2 separate regions of the Homo sapiens genome follow, and region 1 is linked to region 2. Evidence: promoter capture Hi-C in 16 types of primary human blood cells and fetal thymus (Javierre and others, 2016). All regions are on one chromosome and are shown on one strand. The core of a region is centred on a gene start or on the middle of the fragment in contact, and the rest is flanking DNA. Distances in the headings are between cores, read along the strand shown. Region 1 has its middle 110 kb from the start of MAP3K7. Region 2 holds the start of UBE2J1 (ubiquitin conjugating enzyme E2 J1).

Region 1 (6,669 bases), core at 3,834-6,333, 1.1 Mb after region 2:
TACAGGTGTGAGCCACCGCGCACAGCCTGGTTTCCAATTTTAATTTTGCTTTTTATCATATCAGAATGAAGAGAGTTCCATCCAAATGCACCAGCAAACCAGGTCATAAAGGAGATGACAGAAGGCACCTGTGCACTAAGGCAGTGGCACATGACAGTAACATTTCCTTCTGCAGCAAATACATGAACCTTTAGTCAGCTTGTTTTGACCACAGTTAGAAAATATTACCAGTGTAGTGACCACAAATGGTATTTGAAAACATCACGACGGTTTGGAGATCCACCTCCCACATATTTATACAGCCTGTCCTCCACCTCCTACATAAAACTACTTTTCTTTTGTTTGACATTCTTTTTTGAAATAACGTTTGAAATCGTTCAAAGTCATGAACTTGGAGGTGAGTAGGTCTAGCTGAAAATCTATATTTAGCTTTGCAGCAGGCTTGTAAAAACTTGTTTTTATTTTGATTGTTGTGGGTTTGCACCCCTGGAGTTTCATTTTGACTTTTAGGGTTAAGTAAGTTTCAAAATGAAATGCATCCAGTTGTCAAATTTTCCCCCAGGTTTTAAGTTTTAAAACGGAGGTCTCTCTTATTTCGTATTAGTTTTTTTCCCCTAAATTCCTCTCCTCTCCCTCTGGTACCCTGATAATCTCCTTCCTCCTATAAGTGTAATCCTTTTCTCTTGCCTCCTTATTACCTTGGGAAACAATAAGTAGAGGCCAGAGGAACACCCTTGTTTTAGGTGTCAAAGAGCTGAGCTCATATTCTTGCTACTGGGTGGTGAAGGAAACTTGAGATTGCTGCCTCAGTTTCCCCTTTGGAAAAAGGGGATGCAAATAAGAGCTCCCCTCTATTTCTTAAAGGTGCCATGACTGGAAAACCAAGTTGAACTTGACTGAAAATTAAGGAACAACATTCCTCCTAAGTACAAACTGTCACGATGGTGAAGGATTCATTACCCAATGACTTCCATAAGTATTTGCAGCCTCAGGCCCTGGCACTGGAAGCTACAAATAGGATTCCTGCTACCCAAGGAAGGTATAGCCTCAGATAGGTAGGTACTCTGATTGGCAAAGAGAAGAATAAATTATTAAGCCAGTCTGCGAAGCCATAATAAGGTGAATGAGCTAATGGCACTCTATATTTCTTCCATTATCACATTGTATAGGGACTTTTTAAATGTCTGTTAAACATGAGGCAAGATGTTTCATAAACTAAAGCTACATTCAGCTTGTATTCATTTCGTATTGCTGTCGTAACAAGTTACCATAAACACAGTGACTTTAAGTACACACAAATTCACTATCTTATGGTTCACACAAATTCACTATCTTACGGTTCTGGAAGTTGGAATTCCAAGATCAGTTTTACTGGGTCAAAATCAAGGTGTTAGCAGGGCTGTGTTCCTTCTGGAGGCTCCAGAGGAGAATCTGTGTCCTGGCCTTTCCCAGGGGCTACAGGCTGCCTGTATTCCTTGGATCGTGGTCCTCAGCTCTCTAACCCATATTCCTGCCTCCCTCTCAGAAGAATCTTTGTGATTACATCAGGCCTGCCTGGATAATCCAGGATAATTGTCTCATCTCAAGATCCTTAACCCAATCACACTTGCAAAATCCCTTTTGCCATGTAAGCTAACATATTCAGAGGTTCTGGGGATTGAGATATAAACATCTTTGGAGGACTCAATATTCAGCCTAGACAAGCTATGAAAGCATGGACTTGATCTGCCTTGCTCACTGTTGATCCTAGTACTTGGCACAAACCTTCTTCATAGTAGGCACTTGATTAATGTAAATAGAATGAATGAAAGGAATAGATTATGTCTGGTTTTGGCAGTTCGGTACATTAGATGCTTATTGTGTACCTACTATGAGCCACACCCATAGGGGTGCAGAGCTGTCCTGGAGCATACAGTCTGACTGGCAGACAGTCAAGGAGAAAACTGAAACAAGTAAAAGTAAATCCTGGTGTCCAGAAGCCCAGGAGAGCCAGGGCGTCATAACAATTCTGTTTGCACTCTTGGAATTTCTTTCTGTACCGGTTGGCTGCTGCCTTCTCTAAGAATTCTTTGAACACATCCCCTTGGCAAATGTGATTAATGATATTTAGATTTATTTACTTCTGTTTTTTTTTTTTTTTCTGATGTGCTAAGGGTCTGTACTGGAGAATCATTAAAAGAATTAACAATTAAGTTTCTGCAGAACCTCCTCATCCCCACCCTCTGCCCAGCATAGGGAAAGCTCAGGTGGCTGGAAGGAGGTCAGAACCAAAGTTCAGAAATACAGAAAAGCTTAAAGGGATTTCCTGAGCTAGCCTGGGAACCTAAGCACTGTCATTCACTGGTTTTAAGTGTGAATGTGTTTCAAATTTCAAATAGTAGCAATACACTTGGCATTTCAGAACATAACTGCTAGCAAGTTATATGCTGCCTGCTTGTGCACCAAGGTCCAAAAACTGCTTCTCTGTGTTTCAATTGAAGATGACTCAGGTGAATTACAGAACACCACATGGTTGAAATTCCTTTTATATGTGGTCTTCTGGGTTTCAGAAGGGCTGTCCACATGCAGGCCTTCTAAAGAGCCAACCACCAGTTTCCTGTATACCCCAGCCTTGGGGCTTTTTGCCATCTCTCTGCTTTGTTATTAAACAGTCAGAAGTGGGCTGGGGGTGGTGGCTCACGCCTGTAATCCCAGCACTTTGGGAGGCTGAGGTGGTTGGATCACTTGAGGCCAGGAGTTCAAGACAAGCCTGGCCAACGGGGCAAAACCCTATCTTTACTAAAAATACAAAAATTAGCTGGGTGTGGTGGCAGGTGCCTGTAATCCCAGCTACTCAGGAGGCTGAGGCAGGAGAATTGCTTGAAGCTGGGAGGCAGAGGTTGCAGTGAGCTGAGATCACGCCACTGCACACCAGCCTGGGCGACAGAACGAGACTCCACCTAAAAAAAAAAAGTTAACAGTGAGAAATGGAGTCCCCTTTGTCTGGACGGGGAGCGGCTGGCTGGGAGGAGGATGTCAATGGGAGACCGAGGGGAGACAGCTGCAGAGACTGCAGCAGCCTTGGAGGGCAGGACAGAGGTGGACGTGGGAGCACTAGTGGACAGGCCATGTGTACATGGAGGATACTCAAAAGGCAAGGACTGCCTGACACTTGCAAACCCGCACCACCCCCCTCCTGCCTCTAGGGTGCCAGGCTCTTGAAGAAATATATACTTACCCATTTTTGAAAGGTTGACGGGTCTTCTGAGCGTTTGAAGGGGTATTTTCTGTTGTTCAATTGTGAACATATTTGGTTGCAGTTTTGAAGGCTTTTCCTCTAGAACTTTTCATGTCCTATTAGCTGATAACACTCCTGAGCATGAATGTCTCTGTGCTACTGCCCTCTAGGTGTGTTGGAAAAAATAGAGTGCTAATCCCACGCACCTGCTTTCAATTCGGCCCACATGAGTCTGGTGCCAGAGGTTTGTTCACTCTGAATATTTCTACGCAATCTTCAAAACCTGCATTTTTTTACGCTAACACATCTCTGCTGTCAGCATCTTAATGTACACACACACACACACACACACACACACACACACACACACACACGTCGGGGCTCCATAGTCCTACCATTTGTGTTCTCAAAGGGAAGAGTTGGCGAGGGTGAGCTAGGATGACCACTAGATGACAGTATATAAAACACCTCTTAGGTGCTCAGGTGAACGAAGTTTGAATACTGCCCAGAGCTGCGATTCCCAGATTCTGATCTGTAAAATTTTTTAAAAAGGAAAAGAAGGCCCAGTGCCTGTAATACCAGCACTTTGGGAGGTTAAAGTGGAATAATTGCTTGAGTACAATTCGAGACCAGTCATAGTGAGACCCCATCTCTACAAAAAAGAAAAAATTAGCCAGGTGTGGTGGCACACACCTGTAGGCCCAGCTTCTTGGGAGGCTGAGGTGGGAGGATTGATTGAGCCTGGAGGTTGTGGCTGCAGTGAGCCGTGATCACACTGCGTGGGCAACAAAACAAGACTCTGGGCATTCCAGCTTGGGCAACGAAATGACACCCTGCCTTAAAAAAAGAAAAAGAAAACGAAAACAGGAGAGAGCCATTGGCTTGCCAAGTTTTTATCTTGCCAGGGGACATCATTAGATATAAATCAACTTCCATTCCTCCCTAAGAGAAACATTTTAGTCATGAAGAAATAGGAAGGACAGAATCTCAAAACAAGAAATTATCTTGTAAATCTCAAAGTAGCTTTATGAAAAACTTACCACATTGTTCTTTTGTGCTCATTTTGATGCAGACCAGTGAAAGAATCATCATGAACAAGCATTTGGGAAATAAACCTAGAGGAAGATTTATAATTCCAGGTTGTGTTTCCATGAGTGGAATTAAGATAATCGATCTTGCACTATGTTATCTTCAAAATGAATCTAAGAGCTAAGTAAAGTTTCAATCCAGAGACACAAAGAAGAAACAGGGGTTGACATTTGATAAAACTCATGCTATAGTCTGAATGTCCCCCAAATTCATGTGTTGAAACTTAATCTGCACTGCATTGTCTTAAGAGGTGGGGCCTTTGGGAAGTGTTTAAGTAGTGAGGGCTCCACCCTCATGAAGGGTTTAGTGCCTTGTAAGAGGGTTGGAAGGAGCCAGCTTAGACTCCTCTGTTGCTCTTCCACCAGGTGACAACACCTAGATGGCCTCATCTATGAGGAAGGAATGAGCCTTCATCAGACACTGAACCTGCCAGCACCTTGATCTTGGACTTCCTAACCTCCAGAACTGGGAGAAATAAATTCCTTTTCTTTATAAATTACCCAGTCTCAGGTATTTTGTTATAGCAGCCGAAATGGACTAGGACACTCACTAAGATGAGGCAAGCACACAGGAATCGCTGCATATGTACTGGGTGTGTTGCTGAGCCACCCCTCCCCCCGCTTCATCTGGGCCATCTCAGCCTTCTGTTTGTCAGGAACAAAACTGATGATTGCTAAGCCTCCTTGGCCCTAGGGATGGGGCTGTTGAGCTGAACCTCCGCTGAACCAGGCCTGTAGGAACTGCATTCAGGTCCCAGGCTGGTAGGGAGGGTCAGCTCAGGCTCTCCCTCCTGCCATCTTGCTTGACCTCACCAAAGAATTCTGAACCAGAACATGGGTGTGCAACCTTCTGTGGCAGAGATGGGAGAAGTGAGATGCTATGCCCTGTTAAACAATGTGCTAAACACTAATATCACGAGTCAAATTCTAACTTTCAATTAGAGAGCCCTGATTTCAAATTCTGGGGCTTGGGCAAGTCACTTCACCTTTCTAATATTCAGCCTTCTTGTTTGAAAATAGGGCCATTCGTAACACCTACCTCTCATAGCCATTGTGAGATTAAATGAGGTAATCTACATAAAGTATATAATGTAGCACTTACTGTGTGTTCAATGTGCATTAACTAATATTAATAACATTGGTGCAGGGTGCTCCTTTCTAGAGGCAAGCAGGCTGGATGATCCTAAAAGATGCTTTGAGATGCGTGCTAAACATCATGTTTTGGAAGAAATTTGCTGCCAGTAAATCCCTACCTCTGAGTCTCTGGTTTCGTTTTAACAGCTCGTACTCTACAGGTGGTCACAACGCGGAAGGGATTGGAGTGTTTGCAGCCTGGGGAGTTGCTTCTGTAGTTGAGGAGATCTGGAGTGTCGCCTTCTGGATCCGAGTGGCCCTGCTTATTCATAAGGATGGAAATGACTTGGTATTTAAACAGTGGGGAGTCCAGTTAAGCTCTTCTCTCATTGACTATATTCAAGATCCCATAGTAGGTATCTCCCCAGCAAAACTACACAGCCTCTGGTGAGGCTGGAGAGCACAGAGAAAACTCCAGATTACCAAACACACTGACAGTGACACCACACCCTGGAGCTGTGCGGTGACTCACCCTGCCTGGGTAGGAAAACTCTCCCGTCACTGCTGTGAGCAGGCAACGTTAAGGGGTCCTTGGAAGGCTGTGCTTGTACTGCCATCTAGTGGTTTAAAAAAGTACGGCTCGCTTTGGGAAGGGTCCTGGATCCCGTAGTCCGAGCTGTGCAGTCAATCACTAAGCACTAGCATCTTCCTCATGAAAATTTAGTAAGATGAATATTTTATTGAAAACTTGGCATGCTAATTTCCTAATTTAATTTCATCATTCCCCCCACAAAGCACTGAAAAGTTTGTGAGAGTCAAAATAGAGTGAAGAGCACCAGCCTAGGAGTTCGAAGGCTCCTTTGAGTGACAACTCCCAATATAACTTGGAGGAAGTGGCTTAAACCTTCTGTTTTCTCTAGGAAAAAAAATGGAAGTTAATTCCCCAAGTGTACCTCTCAGTAAATGGCTGGGAGGTTGAAATGTGGAGCCACTTGTTCTCCTCTTTCTAACATGCTGCTTCCCTGGCCCCATGTTCTCTGGCTTCTAAGCACACGTTCTTTGCATTTCTTTTTAATTTCTGAATTTCAGGGAAGTAGTCTTTATCTATGGAGACCCTTTGGTTTCGGAATGTGGGTTTTTCCCTTGAATCAACTGCCCCAAGAATATCAAACAACGCTTACATGGGCCTGTTCTCTGTGGGTGCTTTTCTCCTTGACATAGCAACAGTTACACCAGCTCTACCCCAAAATGTGCCAAGGTCTTGATACACAAAATTTGGGTGTTGTGTTG
Region 2 (6,476 bases), core at 3,211-5,710:
TTCTTATAGAGGCCACATGGACACTCTGGAGCCATGCTCTAGGTGCTGTGGGCCTAGGCATTAGCATTCTTCACACACCTTGGCTAGCTCACTAGCCTCACATTGGGGTTTGTATACAGCTAAAAATAAAGGGATCTTCTACAGGCCACTGCTTCCCATATATGGATTCCTCTTCAAAAGCAATTATCTTGATATTATCAATTCCCAAAGCATGAGTGAAATGCAGGAGACAGGTATATTAAGGAAGGCATGCTCCCTAACTGCCTCTTCCTGCTCCCATAATGAAGGTACTTAAGCAAATGCCTACAGAGTGATGTTTCTGCCCAGGAGGACCCTGCAAATGTATCAGTTCAACAAACATTTAAAGAATGTCTGAGTGTTGGAGATAAAACAATGACCAAGACCTGCTTCTTGTCTTCCGTAACAGTCAGTAGAGAAAGACATGAAAATAATTACAACCAAGTGGTAATATTGACCAAGTATATATGTACAAGTATATATAGGAACTACTTTAGTCTGCCTAGGGGAGCTAGACAAGGCTGAACCTTAAAGCTTGAAGAACTATAGGAATTTCAGATGGATTTAAAGGAAGGCATTCTAAGCAGAGGTTCCAACAGGAACCAAAGCACCTAAGTGAGAAAAGCTACTCCAGCTAGAGAGTCATTCAGGCAAAATGGATAGGTAAAAACGCAGGCCTGGTGCAGTGGCTCTCACCTGTAATCTCACCACTTTGGGAAGCCAAGGTGGAGGGAACACTTGAGCTCAGGCGTTTGAGACCAGCCTGGGCAACATGGTGAAACCCTCGTCTCTACAAAAAATACACAAATTAGCTGGGTGTGGTGGCACACACCTGTGGTCCCTGCTACTCGGGAGGCAGAGGTGGAAGAATCACTTCAGCCCAGGAGGTTGAGGCTGTAGTGAGCTGTGATGGCACCACTGCACTCCAGGCTGGGAGACCCTGCCTCAAAAAAAAAGAAAATGAGGAAGAGCATAAGAGTGGTGGACAGTGAGGCTGGTGAGGAAGGGCAGGGTCAATCATGAGCAGCCCTGTAGGCCAAGCTAAGCAGTTTACTTTGAACTTTATTGACAGCTATCAGAAAGCTACTGAAAATTTTTCAATTTGGGGGTAATCAGTTTTTGTTTTGATTGATCTGGTGACAACAGTGACTGATTAGATATATGTGTTTCTGTGTGTGTATTGAGTTGTGTGTTTCAGGGCAGGGATGGAGCAAGGAAGCGACCAAGAAATAAAAAATGACTCCCATAGGTGCCTGAGTGCTGTCTATCCCTGAGATATGAAATACTAGGGTAAACTGCAAGTTTAGGGGAGGAGAAGAAAACTGATGAGTTTTGTCTTTATACTTACAGAGATTTTTTTCACTCTATGGGAAATGAAGATGTTGAGTCACCATAAGTTCTGTGTATCTATAGCTTACGAGAAGGGCCTGAGTTGGACATGAAACCTTGAGTGGATTAGTGGGAAGGTGCAGTTGACACCAATGGCATGGATAGGTAACTCTTAGACTTCTGGTGGAGGCAGTGGGTACTTTTGCACCAGTCTCTTATACTCCCACCACCTGCTGCACATGTCAATGGCCCCCTGATGAAGAAGCTGCCAAAGGAGGTGCTTTATACACATTTCTTCACTTTGTACTATAAGACCCTACTTCCTTGGCCAGAGCAGACCCAAACACGGGTCAAGTAGCTTGATCCATAGACAACTATTGACAGATTATAGACAAGTAGCATGATCCATAGACAACTACTGCTACTACAGTAGCAGATCCATAGACAACTACTGACAACTACCACAGACAACTACTGTGAGGTGATCCTACACAACAGCTCTATCCATAATCACAAGTCCATTCCAAAAAAAAACCATAAAGCAAAAAGTTTCCCCACCTATGAAATGAAAAAATTTACTATATCCACATGCTAGTACACTGGCCCTTAACCAGCTATCTGTATTGTCTTCACTTAATCTTTCCACTCATACATCAAAGACAATCCCACATCAGATAAAGAGTAAAAGATTATATCCCTCACATTGTGTGGTTGTTTTTTGTTTGTCTGGTATGTTGGTATTTTACGTGTGTGTGTGTGTGCACCCTGCCATACACAGGAAATTGGAGTTTTCAGTTGCTCCCCTTCACACAGGCATTACTCTAAAAATACCACAGGACTGAGAATAAAGCAAAGGAAGGAAGTATTTTCACAATGCCTCCCAGCATTTTCAGTAAGTCCCATATCTTACCTAATTCAACTTCTCCATGAACTCCAAATAATTCACACACTAACAAAAATAGATTTTTAAGAAGCATTGTGTTTTTTTTTTTAGAGCAGCAACACTATCTTTGAGGAAATGAAACCAGAAAAAGGAAGCAATTTATGACACAGCTAGAAGCATGTCAACCAAAGCTCAACCAGCTGACAATAGTTCACATACTTTGGAAATATACAAAATTCTGGAGATTTTTAAAAGCTTATCATCATAGTATTAAGTCTAACCTATCGAAATTGAGCGATGTTTTCTGACAACAATCTCTTGGGTTCCACCAGTTCTCCATTCTAAACTGCACTACTACTCACATGTGCATTATCCTCTGGACCTTTCACTAAGCACCTCTGCTGTCCTAAGGAACCGTGTGACCAGGGAGCCACCATACATTTTTACCCAAACAGCTCCAGTTAAATATACCACAATGTAAATAATTCAATCATTTTACCATCTAGCTTAAAAATTAAGCTTTTCTTTCCCTCTTTCTCTTTGGTCTTTTCTTCCTCCCTCCCCACCCCGGGATTCTCTTTTTTTTTTTTTTTTTTTTTTTTTTTTTTGAGATGGAGTCTCGCTCTGTCGCCCACACTGGAGTGCAGTGGCGCGATCTCGGCTCACTGCAACCTCCTCCCCGGGTCAAGCCATCCTCCTGCCTCAGCCTCCCGAGTGGCTGGAACTACAGGAGTGCGCCACCACCATGCCCGGCTGATTTTTGTGTTTTTAGTAGAGACGGGGTTTCACCATGTTGGCCAGGCTGCTCTCCACCTCCTGGGCTCAAGCCTCCCAAAGTGCTGGGATTACAAGCGTGTGCCACCGTGCCAGGTCTTCATCAGATTTTTTTAAGGAGTCAGTGGCTCCTAAAATATTATGACCAGTTCTACACACTTGGTCACCTAAGGACATTTCTTAGCCTGACAGCACTCAGGCTAACAAAGCTCCCTCCAATCAATATCCTCAGGCTTTTCTGGGGTTTTTGCATATTCTGAAACCTTACAAAAAACCCAAAGATTCACAGTGTCAACTCTTTCCACAAGGATGCTAGTCTTGCTAATTCCTACTGAGAAACAGCTTTTTTTGGAAGGAAATTTTAAGCAACAGCAAAAGTTGGTGAAATCATCACTAATATCCTAGAGTTTATCATGCAGAGTTAACTGTGGAGTTTCTTCCCCCTGACAAAATGTATCAAGGTACAGATAGAAAAAATACCATTTAGAGGATCCAATGATTCATTTCAAGCCTGTTTTATTAAGCTGAGAAAGCTAGTTGCTTATCTTTATAATGCACCAGAAAGTAATTAGAGGCTAGGATTGCTGGGACTGCTTGTGTAAATATAAAGCAGGATCATTAAATGCAGGAAAGGAATCGCTACGACTGAATACAGATACATTTCATATTAGCCAGTCTGGCAAAAATCAAGGTTAGCTCTCAAGAACAGGGCTCAACGAGGTGTTTTTTTGTTGTTGTTTTGTTTTGCTTTAGCTCTATAGTTAACTGGTTTAGTTACAGAACATTTCCTTTATGTCTGTAATTGTATTCGCCCAAGTGCTGCAAATAGGATATTTAAACGACCAACTCCTCAAATGTGAGTAAATCAGCCGGCAGTAAATAGAAGTAAATAGAAGTCCGGTGGCAGCGACAGGGAGGGAATAGCGACCAGGTACAGCGAGGGGGTTGATGACTATCGCCCACCGACATCACCTTTACACCTGTTCTCAGGGATGAGTTTCTGACCCAGCTCTACGGGACCAGGCGAAGATGAGAAAAGGGAGAGGCTGGGTGCTGCGGGGCGCGCTGGCCGGCCGGGGGATTGGCAGCGGACGTCCACCCGGCCACCTCGCCCTGCGGCCTGTACTTCCCGGGCAGGCGGCGGTCTCGCGTAGAGCGCGAAACCAGGAGCTGAGCCGCGAGTGGCGCCAGACGCGAGGGGACCGAGGCGGCGACCACCCCGGGGTCCAGGGTCACTCCGCCCTCCTCGCCCAGGGGCCCCAGCCCTGCTCACCCGGACTCTTCAGGTTGTAGCGGGTCTCCATGGTGGGTCGCTGGCTTGGCTCCGGCCTCCCGGGCCGCTGCCACCTCCTCTCCACGCGGCCGCTGCCCGGGTCTCAGCGCGGCTCGGGCGGACGGGGCCTGGCCGAGGAGCCTCGGCAAATGCCGCCCAGTCCAGCCTGGACTGCGGGCGGGGTGGCAAGGCTGAGTGCGGGCGAGGCGCTCGCTTCGCGATGGCGCCGCCTCCTCCACTGCGCCCCCGCCTCCCTGAGTGCCTGGCAGGCACCGGCGCCGGCCGGGGCGGCGCTGAACCGGGCGCCCGGGCTGGAGGTCAGCCTCCTCGGGTAGTCGCAGGCCCAGCCCTGCCGCGGCCGCCCGGCTTGCGTCACCCGCCCTCGTCCGGGATTTGTGAAGTTGCCCTGACGTGGCAGTAGCTTCGTGGCGGTCGGTCACTACCCAGCCGCCGCCCGCCCGGCGAAGCCGGCTTGGGGAGGTGCAGGAGCGAGCGGCGTCCTCGTCCTCTCGTCCCGGCCCTGCCCGCTGTAGGCGAGGTCCGGGACCCCCGGGCCCTCGAGAGCTCGGAGGGGGCGCCGGGCTCCGGCTGCAAAGCTGTCCGCAGCCGGCTGCCCGCGCGCGGTCCCGCAGGGTCTGGGAAAGGCTTTGTTTTTAGATTCAGTTGCTGTTGCGAGGGGCGGGGGTTAAGTGAGGAGGGGGAAAGCCAGTGACAAGGAAATGGAATAGGATTTTTTTTATTTTTTATTTTGTGTGTGTGTGTGACGGTGTCACCGCTCTGTCGCCCAGGCTGGGATGCAGTGGCGCGATCTTGGCTCACTGCAGCCTCTACCTCCCGGGCCCAAGCGATCCTCCCACCTCAGCCTCCAGCGTGGCTGGGACCACAGGTGTGTGCCACCATGCCCGGTTAATTTTTTGTATTTTTGTTAGAGACACGGTTTCACCGTGTTGGCCAGGCTCGTCTCGAACTCCTGGACTCAAGCGATCCGCCCGCCTCGGCCTTCCAAAGTGCTGGGGTTACAGGCGTGAGCCACGGCTCTGGCCAGAGTTGGATATTCATAACAATTTTTTTCTCGGGTAGTGTGTTAGGTGCACGACATGTTTTAGGCATTGCAGGAGTTTTGTTTTTTTTGGTTTGTTTAGATGTAAAAGCTGTCAAAAAAAGGAATTACATTTAATGTGAGGGAAAGCATACAAATATGAAAGGTTAAACTTCAAAGGACACACTTACTGCTTCATTGTCCAATGTGTGGGATCGAGAGAGGACTGAGTTCAAAAGACTTAAGGAGTAGGGACCTTACTAAAGGAAAGGAGGGAGGGATTGGGAAGGTGGGGAGGATAGAAAGGGTTAATCAGGTTGGGCAAGTTTTATTCTGTTATATAAAGACATAAACTCTTAAATTTGATTTGTTTTCTATTGTTAAAGTTAATCTAAATCTGTGAGTTTCTTGATGAAATTGGGAGTAAAAAAGTGAAGGATATCTAAAATTAGATGGTATATTTTAAATCATTCCCTGATGTTGTTTTCTGTATAGTAAACTGATAATCTGACTGACTGAGATATGCAAACAAAACCAAACTCCAATGCTGCTTCATTCATTCATTGTGTTGAATCTTCAGATTAACTGACACTTGACACCCTCTCCTGCCACAGCTCTACAAAAGCCCCTAATTTGTGCAGTAGGCCCTACCACAGCAAGGCCTGCAAAGCAGGTGCTGTATATAATGCGTTCCTATTTGATAGCTGAGTACTAGAAGCCTTTTGCTATTCAGCCTCCAAGGTCCATCAATCTCTGGGTGCAGTTGTCCTCTGGGGCTCTCCTTTAGCCACCACCACCTCCACTGCTCCCTGGGGCTCTTCTCCCATAGGACTGGTTCAGTAGGAATAACAATCTCTCCTTCCTTGGTTAACAACAATAACAACAATTTATTGTGGACATGTGCCCATAACAATTTAATTATGGGCACATATCAAAGCTTAATTACAATCATGCTCCAAGATCAAAGCCAATTCCAAAATTTCTCTCAGCAGAGACATTTACAGAGAAAAGAGAAGTGGCTGGCAGGTGTGGTGGCTCATGCCTGTAATCCCAGCACTTTGGGAGGCCAAGGCGGGCAGGTCACCTGAGGTCAGGAGTTGGAGACCAGCCTGGCCAACATGGCAAAAACCTGTCTCTACTAAAAATACAAAAATTAGCTG

Evidence for each region. The method cuts DNA at HindIII sites, captures the fragments that hold promoters and counts their contacts. A CHiCAGO score of 5 or more calls a contact.
Region 1: a fragment that was not itself captured here is called in contact with the fragment with the promoter of UBE2J1 in region 2 in 1 of 17 cell types (fetal thymus); the score reaches 5.6 in fetal thymus.

Annotation. Positions count from the first base shown.
Region 1 is chr6:90,473,516-90,480,184 of GRCh38, forward strand. No RefSeq gene overlaps it. Among named protein-coding and RNA genes, the nearest start is that of MAP3K7, 110 kb to the right of the region's middle. RefSeq lists a silencer at 5,973-6,082. The HindIII fragment of the contact is 5,588 bases long and covers 2,290-6,669 here.
Region 2 is chr6:89,348,262-89,354,737 of GRCh38, forward strand. It overlaps UBE2J1 (ubiquitin conjugating enzyme E2 J1), which reads right to left and starts at 4,461. Exons shown (of 8, transcript NM_016021.3): 1 at 4,278-4,461. The coding sequence starts at 4,308. RefSeq lists an enhancer at 3,767-4,716 and silencers at 4,013-4,072, 4,103-4,812, 4,823-4,922. The HindIII fragment of the contact is 3,504 bases long and covers 2,748-6,251 here.